Regions from separate parts of the Homo sapiens genome. Here region 2 is linked to region 1. The links are contacts of gene promoters, found by promoter capture Hi-C in blood cells and fetal thymus (Javierre and others, 2016). All regions are on one chromosome and are shown on one strand. The core of a region is centred on a gene start or on the middle of the fragment in contact, and the rest is flanking DNA. Distances in the headings are between cores, read along the strand shown.

Region 1 (2,900 bases), core at 143-2,642:
GAACTAGCTGCCAGGGAACTTGGTATATTAGCTCAGTTTAAAATGGCAGCTTAACAAATTCAAAACTTTCTTTTTAATTAAAAAAAAATGCCCCAACTTATGTCTTGCAATGCCTGTAAATCATGTTTGTCTGCAAGTGAGACTGAAGTTTATAATATGCCAAGGACTACGGTAGCTCTGAAAGGCTCCCTCATACCACAGGCCAGAGAACCTCTCCGCCCTCCACTGGGTTTGTTGATTTTTAGAGGGAAGGATTTTAAGCAAACATACCTTCCCACAGATGAGCCCCTGGAAAGCACTCGGGCCGTTCATTTCCAGTTTCCTGGAAACTGTTTTCTCCCGTAGCTTGACTGTGATGCTCCTACCTGGCGGCCACATATGAAGACCCAGGGTGTGTGTAATGACAGACTGCCCATTTGGTTTAAACAGAAGCAAAACAGGTCCTTAGAGGGTTAGCGCCGGGCCCCTTCATTTCCCTTTCCGGCCTTAAACCTTCTGAACCATTCCTAGCCCCAGCTGTGGTTGTCCAACAAAGTAAATTGCAGCCCATACTCCCTAGGAAGATGACCCAACGTGACTCATAGTCTTCAAGTTACAAAGAGTTGGACGGATGCTTTGTGGGGGTTGTTATTCTCTCTCGCAGGCAGACGTGGCCACCAGCCCCAACAAAGGACACGTTGCACCGCCCTGGCCCAGGCCCAGGTCCATGTGATCAGCGAGGCCAGGGTTTTTCCCAGGTCCACTTCGGACGTACCCAAGCTCCTCATCCTACTCTCACTGCCGCCCTATCCCTCCCACCCTTCCCAAGGGGTCCCCCTGGGGCCAGAAATTATTGGGGGACTCCCTGTACTTCGGGGAGACCCACCGGGCCCATATCGCATGTCCGCTCCACGATGGCCTCCCATTTTGGTCTCCCCTCTGAGTTCCAAGACTCACTGCACGCATAACCAGGTCCTTCTTCACCTGTAAATAAAAAGCATGACACCCCGGCGCAGCAAGACACACGACACACAGCTGTACAGACAGACACCCCCAACAGCCAGACTGACGCCCTGCCCGTGGGGCGCGCGGCCAGGTCCCCTCCACCAGCGCGGCGGTCCCGGCTCGGCTCCCTCGGACTCACCAGGTCCACCACCTCCCTCTGCCGGAGCTGCGCCTTTTGCTTCCCCTTGGGGATCTCAGAGGCGCTCGACGGCGCGGGCAGCTGCAGCAGCAGGAGCAGCAGGAGGCCGCGGAGCCGCTGCGGGGAGGCGGCGGGGCCCTGGGGTCGCATGGCTCCCGGCTGCCGGGCAGCGCGGAGCTGGAGGCGGAGGAGACCGAGGAGAGGAACGTGGTCAGCGTCTGGCTCCGCCGCGCTCCGAGGCCGCCGCAGGCTGCATCAATGCGCCTTTCACCCGCGCGCCTCTCTCCCTCCCTTAATTCCTCCCGCCCCCGCGACACCCGGAGCTTCCATCCCGTAATAGGCCCCGAGCCCCCACCCCGAGCCCGGCGTGGGGGCGGACCGAGAGCCGGGCCCGCCCCCTCCTACTGCAGTCGCTCGGCCTGTCAGGACCCCCGCGGGGCTGCGCAGACCCTCGTGGAGAGCCCGCCTGCAGGGTCTGGGCGGGGTGGCCCGTGGTCAGGAGCCGCAGGTCGGGGATTCCCGCAGGTAACACAGCGCCGCCTAAATGAACATTTTAGAGACACGTGGCTTAACCTGGGTACACGAGCCACCTTCAAGGGTCGTCAATCTATGGCATGGGTCGGCGAGTCTTATTTGTTTTTTGTTTGTTTGTTTGTTTTTGAGACAGAGTCTCGCTCTGTCGCCCAGGCTGGAGTGCAGTGGCGCCATCTAGGCTCACTGCAAGCTCCGCCTCCCGGGTTCACGCCATTCTCCTGCCTCAGCCTCCAGAGCAGCTGGGACTGCAGGCACCCGCCACCACGCCCGGCTAATTTTTTTTTTTTTTTTTTTTTTTTTTTTTTTGAGACGGAGTCTCGCTCTGTCGCCCAGGCTGGAGTGCAGTGGCGCGATCTCGGCTCACTGCAAGCTCCGCTTCCCGGGTTCACGCCATTCTCCTGCCTCAGCCTCCCGAGTAGCTGGGACTACAGGCGCCCGCCATCACGCCCGGCTAATTTTTTGTATTTTTAGTAGAGACGGGGTTTCACCGTGTTAGCCAGGATGGTCTCGATCTCCTGACCTCGTGATCCACCCGCCTCGGCCTCCCAAAGTGCTGGGATTACAGGCGTGAGCCACCGCGCCCGGCCCCGGCTAATTTTTTATATTTTTAGTAGAGACGGGGTTTCACCGTGTTAGCCAGGATAGTCTAGATCTCCTGACCTTGTGATCCGCCCGCCTCGGCCTCCCAAAGTGCTGGGATTACAGGCGTGAGCCACCGCGCCCTGCCTTATTTGTTTTTTGGAGGTGACATTTTTGGAGGCTGGAAGGTGGGGGTGGGGCGGAGGCAGGAAGAAACCATAGGTATCATCAGGTTTTCCAAGAGTCCCATGACCCAAATGATATATAAACGCTGTTTTCATAAGTGCTAACACTTACTAAGCTCTGGCACATTGCAAAACCTTGCACGCGTACTCTGTCCTCTCAGCAATCCTGGCGGGTTGGGAGGGGTAGATGCCTCCTGGGCTACTCTCATAAACGAATGAGGAAACTGAGGCTCAGGGAAGTTAATCAATATCCAGTGGAAATGGTAGAAGTTCACTTTTGAGTACTCTTTGCCTCTGATGGATATTATCTTTTTGTAACCCCCTCTGTCCTCCTTTGGCCTGTCCATTGTAGAAGAAAACATTCTCAGGGCCCAGGCTACCCACCACGTAGGGCCAGGTTGGAGCAGGAGATCTTTTATATATAACTGGCTGGAATCAGGCATAACAGAAGTCTTGCCACACCCATAACAACACGAGGT
Region 2 (2,900 bases), core at 195-2,694, 110 kb after region 1:
GAACTCCTGGCTTCAAGCAATACTCCTGCCTCAACTTCCCAAAGTGCTGGGATTCTAGGCGTGAGCCACTATACCCAGCCAAATTTCTACTTCTTGCTTGTGCAGAGCCTCAAGGTCAGCCAGAGAAATGAGCTTAGGACTTTCTTAAGTATTTCCTGGGCCTGTACACAGCTCTATACACATGCATGGACTTCCAGATTTCCAGGAATATGTTGGAACTTGTCAAAGCCCCCTATGGAATGTCATTCCCCAGATTTTTCTAAGTTTTTTTGGTCCGATTTTTTGCTTACCCAAATTGTTATTGCTGCTTCATATAGCTGTTTCATTGTATATAACTGCCACTGATTGTTTTCAATAAACACTCTTGGTGAAAATGTTGTCACTGGGCAAGCTCTAGTAGGTCAGATAAAGACAAACTCTGCAAGTGGGGTTTTCCAGGGAATTCGCAGACAGGTCAAGCAATGACAATTCTCTGAAAATGAGGCTTTGAAAGAACTCCAACCCTAATGTGTGTCCCCCAGAAGCTTCTGGTTTTCACAGTAACAGTGGGCTATTGGTTTTCAAGGCTACCACAGAGGTGGGAGAGAGGCATAGAAACAAAGCAAGTTAAAATGTCAAAAAAAATTTGTTAAGATTCAGTCATTTTTCTTGAATTAATGCTTCCTGAATTGTTGCAAGCTTTTGTTTAATATCCAGGATTCTGAAGAAGTTGACATAATATTTTCTAGTGTTTTTGTTGCTTTTGTAGAGGAGATGATATTCAATGGTTCTTATTCCATCATTCTTGCTGATTTCATCATCCAATACAATTTTTAGTAAGACCACACTGCAACTTATTTTACCTTTCTGTGCCTCAGCTTACTCATCTGTTTATTGGGAATAATATTAGTGTCTACCATGAGGGTTTTTGAGGACAAAATAAGTTAATTCATGTAAAAGACCTAGCATAGTAAATGTTAAATATTATTATTTCCCTCTTGTTTTCTTGGCTTTCTAATTTTCAATTTGATATTCAAGAACATCTCACTATTTGGGAAATGAAATGGGAGTCAAAGAGCCTTTAGTCTGGGAGTAATCACTGGTATAACTTGAGATGTTACTGATTTTAAGACTGAGCGCATCTGATTTGGAACCAATAGATCTCCCCGCCATCCCCAACCTCTTGCCATTATTTCCCCTTACCCCTTAACACTTGATTGCTTTCTTTCCATTGAGCTCACTCTGCAGGGTATTCTTCTGGTTGCTCTGGAAATTGATCACTTTCTCATTTAACAAACCCAAGTCCACAATGGCACCTGACAGAAAACACAGCCCTTGAGGGAGCATGCCCTTGAGGGAGCACTACTCAATATTTTAAAGTCATACAATTAATACATGGTAAGTACACAAGCCCTGAAGTATTACTTGGGCTGATAAAAGATATAGCACATGCCCGGGGAAAAGCTCATTACATGGCAGCAAAATTGTCTCATTGATGTTTCAATTCCAGAAGGACAACTGAACCACTTACTCAGGGAAATTTTACATGCCATAAATGAGGCAGAAGGAGCTATTTATCATATTGTGTAATTTCACATACTTCCACTCCCTTGTTACTGGAAGCAACTTGGTATGAGAGGAAAAGCAAATGATTTGGAGCTACAAAGACCTCAGTTCAAATCTCAGCTCTGACACTTATTACCGGTATGACTTACATGAATTCTTTGAGTTCCACTTTTTACAAATGTGAAAAAGAGATAATAACATAGCTCATAGATATTTGAAAGATTAGAGGAGCTAATACATTCTAAGTATTTAGTAGAATGCCTAGCCACATGGTAAACATTTAATAAATATTGAATTTACTTTTAAATAATTTTTCTTTTTCTCCTTCCATACTAATTGAGTTTCCTCTAGATGGCAAACACAGTGTTAAATAACTAGCAAACAAAACATCTGTCCTCTTTCCTAACAGAGAGAGTTTAAGGGCTGATGGGAAAGAATGACACTGAACATTTAAAACAAACAAGTATCAATTACAAGTTGTAATTAGGACACTAAAAGAAAAGAACTTAGTCTGTGGGAAAATAATAGGGGGGACCAATTTAGATTAGGCAGAAAAGGAAGTTCTTCTGAGGAGGAGCCATTTAGGCCTAAAAGATGAGAAGTGGCCACCTGGATGACAGGGAAGGAACCGCTTGGGGAAGGATTCTGAAATAGGCAAAAGCTTGATGTGTTCAAGAATCTGGAGGATGACCAGTGTGAATGCAGCATACTGGAGGAGGGAGAAGGTGGCTGACAGCAGAGTGAGGCAAGGGAGAGGTCATGGGAAGCATTGCCAGGTAAGCATGGAGGAGGAGGGAAAGGGCGAGAAGGAAGGAGAAGGACAGCTAGAATTCACTGAGCACTTGCTGTGTGCCAGGCACACTTCTAAGAATTTTACATTTATTAACTCACATAACACCCTAGATGAGCGGCCTGTTATTGTAGGCCTTGTAACGGGGCTTGTGTTTATTCTGAACGCAATGGGAAACCATTGAGGGATTCTCAGCAGAGAGAGCCGTGTTTGGGTTTAAATCTCACAAAGGGCCTGCTGCTGTGTTGAGGAAAGATTGGAAATATTCAAGAGTAGAAACTAGTCATTATATTCTTAACCACTCTTTTCCTCTTACAAACCCTGTGACTTGAAGATTTGTTGGATATAAAGTGCCTTCTAATGAATGGATACAATTATTACAGTAAGTTCATTGCAAGTGCAGCAGGAAAGAAAAGCAGAAATAAAACTGTAAAAACCATAACATATGACAATTTTATACTTTGTATTAAGTCCTATGGGTAAAAAGTATCTATTGGGATAAAAATTCAAGTTTTAAAAGAAGGAAAAAAATACGGATTTCACAGATTCCTTGGCCTTATAGAAA

The links. Contacts are between HindIII fragments. The CHiCAGO score rates a contact against its expected background, and 5 or more counts as called.
Region 2: a fragment that was not itself captured here is called in contact with the fragment with the promoter of CTHRC1 in region 1 in 1 of 17 cell types (endothelial precursors); the score reaches 5.9 in endothelial precursors.

The regions. Positions count from the first base shown.
Region 1 is chr8:103,370,030-103,372,929 of GRCh38, reverse strand. It overlaps CTHRC1 (collagen triple helix repeat containing 1), which reads right to left and starts at 1,392. Exons shown (of 4, transcript NM_138455.4): 1 at 1,124-1,392. The coding sequence starts at 1,273. RefSeq lists enhancers at 144-937, 938-1,732 and a silencer at 1,389-1,508. The HindIII fragment of the contact is 4,990 bases long and covers 1-2,900 here.
Region 2 is chr8:103,256,870-103,259,769 of GRCh38, reverse strand. All of the region lies in intron 1 of LOC105369147 (a long non-coding RNA gene), which reads left to right. Among named protein-coding and RNA genes, the nearest start is that of FZD6, 41 kb to the left of the region's middle. The HindIII fragment of the contact is 1,528 bases long and covers 681-2,208 here.